2 separate regions of the Homo sapiens genome follow, and region 2 is linked to region 1. The links are contacts of gene promoters, found by promoter capture Hi-C in human tissues and cell types (Jung and others, 2019). All regions are on one chromosome and are shown on one strand. Each heading gives the region's core, a stretch centred on a gene start or on the middle of the fragment in contact. The rest is flanking DNA. Distances are from core to core; before and after follow the strand shown. Region 1 holds the start of SLCO1B3 (solute carrier organic anion transporter family member 1B3). Region 2 overlaps SLCO1B3-SLCO1B7 (SLCO1B3-SLCO1B7 readthrough).

Region 1 (6,955 bases), core at 3,310-5,809:
ACATTGATCACGGCTGCAGAAGAGACAGGAAGGGCCAAGTTATAGCTAGAAAAAAAAGAGAAACAGAAAAATTCTTACAAGAGGCTGAAAGTATGGAGAATTTCATTTATTATTAGCTATGCACTCCAGAAAGCTCAAGAAAAGAGTTTTGGTTCAGGATTGGGAGAGAGATAGGAGATGGGGGCAAAAGCAAAAATGTGCATAGCCACACTGGGATTAGACAAGAGGTAATGAGTGATCAGGAAGTACCTACTTTTTTTTTTTTTTTTTTGAGACGGAGTCTTGCTCTGTCACCCAGGCTGGAGTGCAGTGGTGCGATCTCTGCTCACTGCAACCTCTGCCTCCCAGGTTCAAGCCATTCTCCTGCCTCAGCCTCCCGAGCAGCTGGGCTTACAGGCACATGCCACTAGTGTCCGTAATTGGGGGGTTCTTGGTCTCACTGACTTCAAGAATAAAGCCGCAGACCCTCACGGTGAGTGTTACTGTTCTTAAAGGCGGCATGTCTGGAGTTTGTTCCTTCTGATGTTTGGATGTGTTCATTCCTCCCCGTGGGTTCGTGGTCCCGTTGGCTCAAGAGTGAAGCTGCAGACCTTTGCGGTGAGTGATACAGCTCATAAAGACAGTGCCAACCCAGAGAGTGAGCAGCAGCAAGATTCATTGCAAAGAGCGAAACAACAAAGCATCCACAGCGTGGAAGGGGACCCAAGCAGATTTCAATGCTGGCTTGGGCAGCCTGCTTTCATTCCCTTATCTGGCCCCACCCACATCGTGCTGATTGGTCCCTTTTACAGAGAGCTGATTGGTCCATTTTGACAGGGTGCTGATTGGTGCGTTTACAATCCCTGAGCTAGACTCAAAAGTACTCCAAGTCCCCACTAGATTAGCTAGACACAGAGCACTGATTGGTGCATTCAAAAACCCTGAGCTAGACACAGGGTGCTGACTGGTGCATTTACAAACCTTGAGCTAGACACAGAGTGCTGATTGGTGTATTTACAATCCCTTAGCTAGACATAAAGGTTCTCCAAGTCCCCACCAGATCAGCTAGACACAGAGCACTGATTGGTGCATTTACAAACCTTGAGCTAGACACAGAGTGCTGATTGGTGTATTTATAATCCCTTACCTAGACATAAAGGTTCTCCAAGTCCTGGCTAGACTCAGGAGCCCAGCTGGCTTCACCCAGAGGCTGCCTCACCTGGGGCTGCAGGTGGAACTGCCCGCCAGTCCCGCATGCCCTGCGCCCCGCCCTCCTCAGCCCTTGGGCGGTCTATGGGACCAGGTGCTCCTGGAGCAGGGGGCGGCGCTCCTCGGGCAGGCTCCAGCTGGCGCAGGAGCCCGTGGTGCGTTGCCGTGTGTGGGGCGGCGGGGGGAGGAGGGGCGGCAGGGGGAGAGGGGGAGGCTCAGGCATGGCAGGCTGCAGGTCCCCAGCCCTGCCCCAGGGGGAGGCAGCTGAGGCCTGGCGAGAATTCCAGCGCAGCGCTGGCCGGCCGGCACTGCTGGGACACCTGGCGCACTTTCCGCAGCTGCTGGCCCAGGTGCTAAGGCCCTCACTGCCCGGCGCGGCCCGCCGCTCTGGGTGCAGGGCTTGCCGAGCCCACGCCCACCGGGAACTGGCGCTGGCTCGCAAGCGCCGCACGCAGCCCGGGTTCCGCCCGCGCCTCTCCCTCCACACCTTCCAGCAAGCTGAGGGAGCCGGCTCCGGTCTCGGCCAGCCCAGAAAGGGGCTCCCACAGTGCAGAGGGGGGCTGAAGGGCTCCTCAAGCACGGCCAGAGTGGGCGCCAAGGCGGAGGAGGTGCCGCGGAGAGGGAGCAAGGGCTGCCAGGACGCTGTCACCTCTAACCACTACGCCCAGCTAATTTTTTGTATTTTTAGTAGAGAGGGAGTTTTACCGTGTTAGCCAGGATGGTCTCCATCTCCTGACCTCGTGATCCGCCTGCCTCGGCCTCCCAAAGTGCTGGAATTACAGGTATGAGCCACCGCGCCTTGCCCCTACCTTCTTATGGTGGTGACTGACATTAAGAGAGAGAATTGCCATAAGATTAGTCATAATGATACCAGAGCTTTGACCCTTAGTGGGTATGGAGACATGGGGGTTCTTTCCAGGGAGTGCAGCTTTCTGTAATTACGTCTTGACCAGCTAAGGAAGGTGGGGTGGGTAGGCAATGGCAGGTCTGCTTTGAGCCTGAAGTTTCCTTCTGGGAATACGCACCCAGTACCCATCTGAGAACTCAGACTAAAAACTATTAGGAAAAATTGCTGGGGACGTGTTTCAGAGACTTGACTTTTACTCTTGTAATATGAATTAACTGCTTTAAAAATGGACAATATGCAAATGCCATACAATGACTCTATTTAGGTATGGAATCTATAATGTGCCAGGTACTGGGTGAGGCAGTTTACACAGAGCAAATCTTTATTACAACTATAGCCTTCCCACTTAATGGATGAAAGCATAGATACTTAGAATGGTGAAACAACTTAGGAAATTTATACTGCTGTCAAGTAGCAGAGACATTGGTATCAAAGTTTATCAAACTTCAAAGCCCATAATATTTCATCAGAACTGTGATGATTATTGCGGCAACAAACAGCAGATTGTTTTAAGCAAATTTGGAGTTGTATTGATCCACAGCTGTTAGCATAATATTTATCTTGAAAAAAAGTGTTGCAATGTGTTTCCTCTGACCACTCTTATTTTTTCCACAAGTCCCACAAAAAGGGAAGTCTAATTACTTACATAGGAAGAAAAAAGGGCACAGAGAATGCTCTTTGACTTCTGAAAACATTCCAGAATTTTACCACTGATAGCGTTAGTTTAGGGATTAGAAAGTTTCTCAGTGCATTTGTACTATTTTATCTTCATTCTATGCATGTATTTGTCCCAAATGAAATTGATGTGTCTTGAATGAAATGGATGTGTGAGGAGAAAACCATTAGCATGAGAATATCCAAACTGTCTTCCCATTCTGAATAAAAGAAAAGCCATAAAACTGATAATTAATGTTTAGTATCTCTGCTATGATGGTTCTCAAAAGCTGACAGTATGTAAAAATTATTCTAAGTGCTTATTTAAAAAGCATAATCTCCGAACTCGTGAATCAGAATCTCTTGGGTGTGGGGCTGGATCGCACTTTTGACAAAGGCTCCCCAGTAGATTTTGACTCAACAGAGGGGTGTTTGGGAGCCTATATCTAATTTTCCCTGCCCCAGGTCTACACTTCAGTGTTCCCCACATTTTCTAATCCTTCTCTCCCTCCACACTCCGGTTCCTTTCATTATTCTAATACTTCCATGAATTAACCAGGTATAGAACTAATCTAGGCTGGGCGCAGTGGCTCACGCCTGTAATCCTAGCACTTTGGGAGGCCGAGGTGGGCAGATCACGAGGTCAGGAGATCGAGACCATCCTGGCTAACATGGTGAAACCCCGTCTCTACTAAAAATACGAAAAAATTAGCCGGGCGTGGTGGCGGGCGCTTGTAGTGCCAGCTACTCGGGAGACTGAGGCAGGAGAATGGCGTGAACCCGGGAGGCGGAGCTTGCAGTGAGCCGAGATCGTGCCGCTGCACTCCAGCCTGGGTGACAGAGCAAGACTCCGTCTCAAAAAAAAAAAAAAAAACTAGTTTATCAAATAACTGTGATATAGAAATTAAATACATATTGCTGCAACTGTATCAACAACTGTCCTGTCAGTGATAAGGGGTAACAATGTTTTCATACATGCATTCTCTCTTTGCTATATACATACACACATACACATAAATACATATATACATACACTCATGCATGTGTGTGTATATATACATGTGAGAGAAGACTCCGTTTATTATTTATATTTTTATAGTACACTTCTAAAACACAGCCATGTGCCTGAGATATAGTAGGGAGTCAAATATGTTTGAGTTACTGAATTAATTAATTTGACTTCATCCTTACTCAAGAAAAGTTTCAACTGAGTGAAGGTCTTCCATTCTCTAAAGAGCAAGTCAATAGAAGGAGATCATTCTTCCTTTACACATTGATGTAAGGAATATATCATACAAACTAGTCTTGATTTTTGTCATTTAGAAGACTAGTCTTGTAATTAATTGGCAATTTAGTATTCCATGTGAGATATCCAGTGTCCATGTACGTCATATTAGATCCATACACATGTAACAAGCAAAGAGGGTATGTTTTATTTTTTGAATGCTAATGTAACATGTAGGGACATTTTAAAAAATCGCCTTGACATATTTTCTATTTGGAATAGTTTTAAATACTTTGGATAATGTGTTGTATTTGTATTTCTAAAGAAGAAAATCTTATGCAACCAACTTAATTGAATAAGAAATAAATCATTCCCAGAAATAATTTATTTTCTAATGTTAACATAATGTGTACATTCTGAGAAATTATTAATAAAATGTTTAAAAGATAGGCTTCTGGGGTGAACTCCTAGAATTAGCTAGGTATGTTTTTTCTGTTTGCCTAGGACAATGACCTAATAAGATGGTTAATCATCATTGGACTCATAAAAACAAACAAATAAAAAGCCAACTAACCATTTAAAGTGAGACTTTAACATCAGAAAAAGGATGGACTTGTTGCAGTTGCTGTAGCATTCAAAGTCAAGGTAAGAACCGTCGAGGTTGTCTAATTAAAACATTTCTTTTATGTAAGAAATTTTAACAAATTTCAGTGAAAATGTTTTTGGTAGTTATGATAAATATTACAGATTTTATGCTCTGTGTCTTCTCCACACTTTTGTTCTGAGCCCTTAAAGCCTTGTAAATATCCCTTCTAGAAATAGAAGAGCCTCAGATTTATATACTCAAAAATAAGAGTAAATCATACCTTTATAAAGTGAAAAATAAAGTTTGGAGTCCTATTTCTATTGCTTTCTAAACAAATGAAACATGAAGTCTGAAAGGATGGACTTCTAGTTACTCTCTTAAAATATACTATAAGATAATTATTTGTATAAACTGTATTGAATTACTATACCAGGCTCCCTATTTCTTTGATTTCACTTTAACTGGATAAGTAGGAGTGGGCGGGTGGAGGGGTGGAAAATATGTTTCAAAGTCACTTAATCACCTCACTTTCCTCCATTCAACTCGTTTGATTTAGGGTGAGGGGAAAGAGATTTTCTAGATAACTTTTTTATCTCTGTTCAAATAAGAGAAAAAAATCTTCTGGGCACAGCTCTTGGAAAGAATTAACAGCTCAATAAATAATGGTCCCCTTCACCCATTCAGGAAGGTGGCTTCCCTGATAAGACAGTTATTTTTATTGTGAAAGTAAGGTGGGGATGCAGAAATTCTCTCCTCTGAACAATCTAAGAAGTTAGGAAATGCTGTTTTCCCTTTTATCCTCCTCAGTTCCATAGGTACATGCTAGAAACTGGGTCACTTGGCCTGCACTGGTTTTCTATAACCCCTTAAATATGAAAAGCTAAACAGAAATAAGCAGAGGCTGGTAAGATTCTGCCCTCTACTTCAGCCCAATCAAACTGTGAAGAACTGACCTGTTCTGTTCAGGGAAGAGTTGCAATGCTGCATACAAATGCCTGTGGCTCTGTCTATAAACATATTGTGTCCTCAACATTTATTTATGTCAATAATTTGGAACTCAGAAATAATATGTTCAGAGCAAAATATATTAAACGCTTCTAAATAAGGCTTAAAATGCCACAATGAAGTAAAAAGTGTGGTATTTATTCAAGGCTAAATTGATATTCAAGTTTTGTAGGTACTTTGTACTTACTTGATACATTTTTTTTTTTTTTTTTTTGAGAAGGAGTTTCGCTCTTGTTGCCCAGGCTGGAGTGCAATGGCGTGATTTCAGCTCACCACAACCTCAGCCTCCTGGGTTCAAGTGATTCTCCTGCCTGAGCTTCCAGAGTAGCTGAGATTACAGGCATGTACCACCACACCCAGCTAATTTTGTATTTTTGGCAGAAATGGGGTTTCTCTGTGTTGGTCAGGCTGGTCTCGAACTCCCAACCTCAGGTGATCTGCCCGCCTCGGCCTCCCAAAGTGCTGGGATTACAGGCATGAGTCACTGCTCCCGGCCTACTTGATACAATTTAACCTTTCTGAGAGATGAGAAACCAAGTGCCCACATTTCTTATTTTTCTGGATGGGTATTTTATCTGAACATAAAAGAGAGAGGTGTGGAATAGTTGTCTTGGAAAGTACGGGAAATAACAGAAAAAAGTAATGATTATTCGGGTATGTTCTCCAGTGGTACAGAAGGATGAGAGGATGAGAGAGTTTATTTCAACTAGAGGTAAATAGGGAAACATTAAAGTGGTGTGATTTGGAGCCGCATTACAGCCAAGAGATAGGGAAGGACATTCCAGGAATGGAAGACATATACATGAAGGTAGAGAGCTTTTCTGTTGGGACAGTGGTTCCATACATCTGCAAGTGCTTATGGTTGTATTGGGAAATGGGACTAAAAACTTGGATTCATTTAGGCTGTGAAGACCCTCAAATAGGAAGTGTAAGTTTTATTTTTGTTGTAAGAGGGATCTTTGAATGATTCCAAGAATGGACATGATATGCATAGGAAAGAAAGCAAGCTGGAAGACAGGACAAGTAGAAATTAATCAATTGAAAGAAACAAGGCTTGAGTGGTGAGATAATAGTCTTCAAGCCTTCAAGAATATTTGTTTAGTATAAAGAAAAAGAAAACTCTAAAGCTGAAGGAAGACTATCTGCCTTGCAAGTCGTTCAAAAAGATTTGCAATTATAGAATTAATTGGTAAAAAATAAATATTTTCCAACTTTTAAATTATGAAGAAACAGAGATATTCGTGGAAAAAGTGGTGTAAATTTATTAAGGGGCTGCTTATTACCTTGAGACCACCAAATTATTGATTTTTTTCCTCACTTTACCTACAAAACACATACAAAAAGTGGAATAATTGAACTTCTCTTAGAGATACATAGGTATGGGTTTCTC
Region 2 (6,955 bases), core at 3,302-5,801, 270 kb after region 1:
AGAAAGGGAAGCCAACACATCTTTCTTTACATGGCAGCAGCAAGGAGAAGTGCAGAGTGAAGGAAAAGAAGAGCCCCTTATAAAACCATCTGATCTCGTGAGAACTCATTCACTTTCATGAGAAGAGCATGGAGGTAACCATCTCCATGATTCAATTACCTCCCAATGGGTCCCTGCCATGACACATGGGGATTATGGGAACTGCAGTTCAAGATGAGATTTGGGTGAGGACACAGCCAAACAATATCATTCTGTCCCTGGCCCCTCTCAAATCTCATGTCCTCACATTTCAAAACACAATTATGCCTTCCCACCAGGCCCCTAAAGTCTTAACTCATTTCAGCATTAACTCAAAAGTCCAAGTCCAAAGTCTCATTTGAGACAAAGCAAGTACCTTCTGCCTATGAGCTGGTAAAATCAAAGCAGATAAGTTGCTTCCTAGGTACAATGGGGAGTACAGGCATTGGGTTAATACACCCATTCCAAATGGGAGAAATTGGCCAAAACAAAGGGGCTACAGGCCCCATGCAAGCCGAAAATCTAATAGGGCAGTCTTTAAACCTTATTGTTCCAAAATGACCTCCTTTGGCTCCATGTCTCACGTCCAGTTTACACAGATGCAAGAGGTGGGCTCCCATGGTCTTGGGCAGCTCTACCACTGTGGCTTTGCAGGATACAGCTTCCCTTCAGGCTGCTTTTAAGGGCTGGCATTGTGTCTGCAGCTTTTTCAGGCACACAAAGCAAGGTGTTGGTAGGTCTACCATTCTGGGGTATAGAGGATGGTGGGCATCTTCTAACAGCCACACTAGGGAGTGCCCCAGTGGGGACTCTGTGTGGGGGTTCCAACCCTACATTTCCCTTCCACACTGTCCCAGCAGAGATTCTGCATAAGGGCCCCATCCCTGCAGCAAGCTTCTGCCTAGAAAGTTCCATACATGTTCTGAAATCTTAGCGGAGGTTCCCAAACCTCAATTCTTTACTTCTGTGCATCTACAGGTTCAACACCACATGGAAGCTGCCAAGGCTCGCGGCTTGCAACCTCTAAAGCCATGGGGCAAGCTGTACCATGGCGTCTTTTAAAAATGGCTGGAGTGTCTGGGACTTGTAGCACCAAGTTTCTGGGCTACACACAGCAGGGGTCCCTGGGCCCAGCCCACAAAACCAGTACTTCTCTTAGGCCTCTTGTTTTGTGATGGGAGGGGCTGCCACAAAGGTCTCTGACATTCCCTGGAGACATTCTCTCCATTATCTTGGCAATTAACATTTGTCTTCTCATTACTTATGTAAATTTCTGCAGCTGGCTTGAATTTCTCCGCAGAATATGGGTTTCTTTTCTACTGTATCATCAGGCTGCAAATTTTTCAAACTTTTATGCACCACTTCTTCTTGAACACTTTGCCACTTAGAAATTTCTTCCACCAGATACCCTAAATTATCTTTCTCAAGTTCAAAGTTCCACAGATCTCCAGGGTAGGGGCAAAATGTCACCCAACTCTTTGTATAGCAACAGTGACCTTTACTCCAGCTCCCAACAAGTTCCTCATCTCCATCTGAGACCACGTCAGCCTGGACTTTATCATCCATATCACTATCAGCATTTTGTTCAAAGCTATTCAACAAGACTCTTGAAAGTTTCAAACTTTCCCACATCTTCCTATTTTCTGAGCCCTCCAAGTCTCTAGGAAGTTCCAAAGTTTCCCACATTTTTCTGTCTTCTTCTGAGCCATCCAAACAATTCCAACCTCTGCCTGTTACCAAATTCCAAGGTTGCTTCCCCATTTTGGGATATCTTTACAGCAGTGCCCCCTTACCTGGTACCTATTTACTGTAGTAGTCCAGTCTCACACTGCTAATAAAGACATACTCAAGACTGGTAATTTATAAAGGAAAGAGGTTTAATTGACTTGCAGTTCTGGAGGGCTGGGGAGGCCTGGGTAAACTTAAAATCACAGCAGAAGGGAAAGCAAACACATCCTTCTGCACATGGCAGCAGCAAGAAGAAGTGCCAAGCAAAGAGGGAGAAAAGCACCTTATAAAACCATCAGGTCTCATGAGAACTCACTCACTACGAGAACAGTGTGGAGATAACCATCCCCATAATTCAGTTACCTCTCACTGGGTCCCTTCCACGACATTTGGGGATGATGGGAACTATAGTTTAAGATGAGATTTGGGTGGGGACACAACCAACCCATAACACCAAGTATGACCCAAATGCCCCAAATGATAATTAAAAAAAAAAAATGGTGGAAGGATTTTTATTGCTTTGGGTTTATACCCAGTAATACAATTAATGGGCTGAATGGTAATTTTGTTTTACATTCTCTGATAAACCACCAGACTGCTTTCTACAATGGCAGAACTAATTTACAATCCCACCAGTAATGTATGAGTGTTCCCTTTTTTTCACCACCTTGTCAGTATCTGTTATTTTTTTACTTGTTAACAATAGCCATTCTAACTGGTGTGAGATGGTATCTCATTGTAGTTTTGATTTGTATTTCTCTAATAATTAGTGATGTTGAATCATAAGTGAGCCTATGGAACAGAAAATCAAATACCACATGTTCTCTCTTTTAAGTGGGAGCTAAACATTGAGTACATATGGACACAAATAAGGGAACAAGAGACACTGGGGTCTGCTTGTGGGTGGAGGGTGAGAGGAGGGTGAAGATACAAAGCTACCTATAAGTGACTATGATTATTACCTGGGTGACAATAAGTCTGTACACCAAACCTGCATAGCATACAATTTACCTACATAACAAACCTGCACATGTACCCGTGAACCTAAAATAAATGTTAAAACAAAGAAGATAAAGAAAAGGAACAAATAATAAAATATTTTAAAAACTGCATCACCAGAACTTATTTTAAGTGAAATTCAACAGCAAAAGATAAATTAGAAGAATTTCTAAGTCAGACACAGACATAGGCAAATGTCCTATGTATATAAAAAGCTCTTAAAAATTAACAAAAACACCACCAAATGCTGGCAAGAATGAGATAACAGGAATTTTCTTTCATTGCTGGAGGTAATATAAAATGGTACAGCCATGTTGGAAGACAGAGTCAAAGTTTTTTAAAAGCAAAAGATAGATTTACTGTATGATTAAGCAATCATGCTCCCAGATATTTACCTAAATTAATTGGAAACATGTCCACAAAAAAAAACCCTGCATTTGAATGTTAAAAAGTGGAAGCATTTAAGATGTCCTTTAATAGGTAAACAAATAATTGAACTGTGGTACATTCATACAATGGAATATTAGTCATCAATGTATTAGTCCATTCTCAGGATGCTATAAAGAACTACCTGAGACTGGGTAATTTATGAAGAAAACAGGATTAATTCATTCACAGTTCAACAGGCTTTACAGGTAGCATGACTGGGAGGCCTCAGGAAACTTACAGTCATGGCACAAGGCGAAGGGGAAACAAAGCATATCTTCTCATGGCAACAGGAGAGAGAGAGAGAGAGCGCAAAAGTGGAAGTACCACACACTTCTAAACCATCAGATCTCATAACTCACTCACTATCTTGAGACCAGAAAGGGGGAAATCCACCCCCCATAATCCAGTCATCTCCCACCAGGCCCCTCCTCCAATTTGGCATGATATTTGGGCAGAGACACAAATCCAAATCACATCAATCAATTAAAAAAAAATGAGCTATCAATCTACAAAAAGAAAGAAAGGAAAATTAAATGTGTAAATAAAAGAAGGCAGCCTACAAAGCTTCAGATTGTATAATTTTAACTGTATAACTTTGTAGAAAAGGCAAAACAATGGGCAATGAAAAGATCAGTTGTTTCTTGGGGCTCAGTGGGGAAAAGGAATGGATGAATAGGTCTGAATAGGTCTGACACAAGACATTTTTTGGGCTAGTGAAACTATTCTATATGATATTATAATGTTGCATCATAATATGCATTTGCCAAACCTTTGGAAATTTACAACATAGAAAGTGAACTCTAATGTAAAATATGGACTTAATAATGTATCGGTATTCTTTCATCATTTGGAACAAATGTGCTGTACTAATACAAGGGGTTAATGATAGGAGAAACTGTGCGTATGTTGGGCAGGGAGCCCTCCATACTTTCTGTACAGTTTTCTGTAAAACTAAAATTGCTATAAGATATAGGAACTAGTAAAGAAAAAAAATCATCAAACATTTTCCAAAAAAGTCACTAGAGGTTATGAAACATGAAAATATGAACATCATTTTTTTATTCATTGACAATAAGAGAATTGCAATTAAAAGTCACCCAGATTGTCAACAAAGGTGTTGATTGGAGATTGTGTTTGCAAAGTAAATGACTTTGAGCCAGTGGGAGTACTTCTAGGAATTTATCCTCTAGCAAGCTATATTCCCAAAATACTGAAAACAATGTAAATATCAATCAATAAGTTATCAAATAGTGACACATGCAGGCAAATGAATATTCTGAGTTCTTAAAAAAAGAAGAAACGAGATATGTATTTTCTAATATGGACCCTATTCACAATATATTGTTACATTAAAAAAAAGGACAAAGCAGGAAGAATACGTGGAGCATGCTATTGTTTATGTAAAGTGGGGAATGTTTCTTAGTTCAGGTGAAATCCCTGGAGAAAACTCCCTGGGTCAAATTTACTAGAACCTTCTCTTACTTAATATGTAAATTCACTATCAAACATTCCCAACAAGTAATGATCCAGCTTTTCCTGGAATTGTAGTAAAGCAGCATTCACTACCCCACATTCTCCTAACTTTAAGTCTTATTATATAAAATGTCTTCCTAAATGGTAGATTTTATTTCCACGAATAAAAGTATGGAAAGAAATAAAAAAGCAACACTTACTAAATTTACTTTAATGACATTATGTTAAGAAAGTGTTTATTTCTGTCTGTTTGTTTGCTTTTTGAGACTGAGTCTCGCTCTGTTGGCCAGGCTGGAGTGCAGTGGCGCAATCTCGGCTCACTGCAAGCTCTGCCTCCAGGATTCACACCATTCTCCTGCCTCAGCCTCCCAAGTAGCTGGGACTACAGGCGCCTGCCACCAGGCCCGGCTAATATTTTGTATTTTTAGTAGAGACGGGGTTTCACCGTGTTAGCCAGGATGGTCTCAATCTCCTGACCTCATGATACACCCGCCTAGGCCTCCCAGAGTGCTGGGATTACAGGTGTGAGCCACTGTGCCCGGCCGAAAGTGTTTATTTTTATTTGGAATTATAACTCATTTTAGGACAACTGTCAAGATGCTCCTCAGAATCTCCCCAAAGCAATGATCACCAAGTCCAAGCATTAACATCACATTTTAGGATAGCATTACTTTAGTTACTTTAGTTTCAGTATGAAAAGACTTCTAAAACAATTTTTTAAAAAACCCATATTAGTTTCTTTTCCTTTAGTGAAGGTTTTGGTAGAACTAAAAGGAAATGTGTGTGTGTGTGTGTGTGTGTGTGTGTGTGTTGTGTACACCCACACATATATATGTATGTGTGTATGTAAGTGGGAAGCAACAGAAGAGGTCAGAGGGATGTGATGTGAGAACGACTATGCATATTGTTGCCGGTTTTGAAGTTGAAGGAAACGGCCCAGAAGCCAAGGAATGTAGGTCGCCTCTAGAAGTGGGAAAAGACAAGGAAACAGGTTGTAGAGCTTACAGAAAAAAAATGCAGGGCTAGGCGCGGTGGCTTATACCTGTAATCTCAGCACTTTGGGAGGCCAAGGAAGGTGGATCACTTGAGGTCAGGAGTTAGAGACCAGCTTGGCCAACATGGTGAGACCCCGTCTCTACTAAAAAATACAAAAATTAGCCTGGCATGGTGGCAGGTGCCTGTAATCCCAACTACTCAGGATGCTGAGGTAGGAGAATCACGGGAACCTGGGAGGTGGACGTAGCAGTGAGCCAAGATCTTGCCACTGTAGTCTAGCATGGGCAACAGAGTGAGACTCCATCTCAAAAATAAATAAATAATAAAATAAAATAAAAAGATGCAGCTCTATCAATACCTTGATTTTAGCCAATTAAGGCAAGTGTTAGGCTTCTGACATCCAGTGCATGCTTCAAGCTTATCTCATACACCCTTTCTTCAAAAGTTTGCACCACTTCAGCCAGCTAGAAATAACCATCCCTCTTTACAACTCTCCTGGCATATTGTAGCTGACACATGGCCCTTACTACTTTTATTTTAGTCACCTGTGTTCACTGCTGGATTGGTTAAAGTGGACATTTTTAAAAGAGCAGTTATTTGCCAATTAATACAACAGTTAAATGGTTATCTTATGATTATTAAAGGACTTTATTTTTTAGAATAGTTTTAGAATCGCAGTACAATTGAGGAGAAAGCACAGAGATTTCCCATATCCTGCCTGCTCCCACACATGCATAGCCTTGCCCGTTATCAACATCTCCCATCAGGGTGGTAGATTTGTTACAATTGACAACCCATATTGACATATCTTTATCACTCATGGTCTGTTCCATTGGTCTATATCTCTGTTTTGGTACCAGTACCATGCTGTTTTGGTTACTGTAGCCTTGTAGTATAGTTTGAAGTCAGGTAGGGTGATGCCTCCAGCTTTGTTCTTTTGGCTTAGGATTGACTTGGTATGCAGGCTCTTTTTTGGTTCCATATGAACTTTAAAGTAGTTTTTTCCAATTCTGTGAAGAAAGTCATTGGTAGCTTGATGGGGATGGCATTGAATCTGTAAATTACCTGGGGCAGTATGGCCATTTTCACGATATTGATTCTTCCTACCCATAAGCAGGGAATGTTCTTCCATTTGTTTGTATCCACTTGTATTTCCTTGAGGAGTGGTTTGTAGTTCTCCTTGAAGAGGTCCTTCACATCCCTTGTAAGTTGGATTCCTAGGTATTTTATTCTCTTTGAAGCAATTGTGAATGGGAGTTCACTCATGATTTGGCTCTCTGTTTGTCTGTTATTGGTGTATAAGAATGCTTGT

The links. The method cuts DNA at HindIII sites, captures the fragments that hold promoters and counts their contacts. A contact is called where the count stands out against the background at its distance.
Region 2: a fragment that was not itself captured here is called in contact with the fragment with the promoter of SLCO1B3 in region 1 in 2 of the 25 tissues and cell types used here (dorsolateral prefrontal cortex and hippocampus).

What each region holds. Positions count from the first base shown.
Region 1 is chr12:20,806,146-20,813,100 of GRCh38, forward strand. SLCO1B3 (solute carrier organic anion transporter family member 1B3) reads left to right here and starts at 4,560. Exons shown (of 16, transcript NM_019844.4): 1 at 4,560-4,619. The HindIII fragment of the contact is 19,974 bases long and covers 1-6,955 here.
Region 2 is chr12:21,077,332-21,084,286 of GRCh38, forward strand. All of the region lies in intron 15 of SLCO1B3-SLCO1B7 (SLCO1B3-SLCO1B7 readthrough), which reads left to right. Among named protein-coding and RNA genes, the nearest start is that of SLCO1B1, 50 kb to the right of the region's middle. The HindIII fragment of the contact is 4,453 bases long and covers 2,326-6,778 here.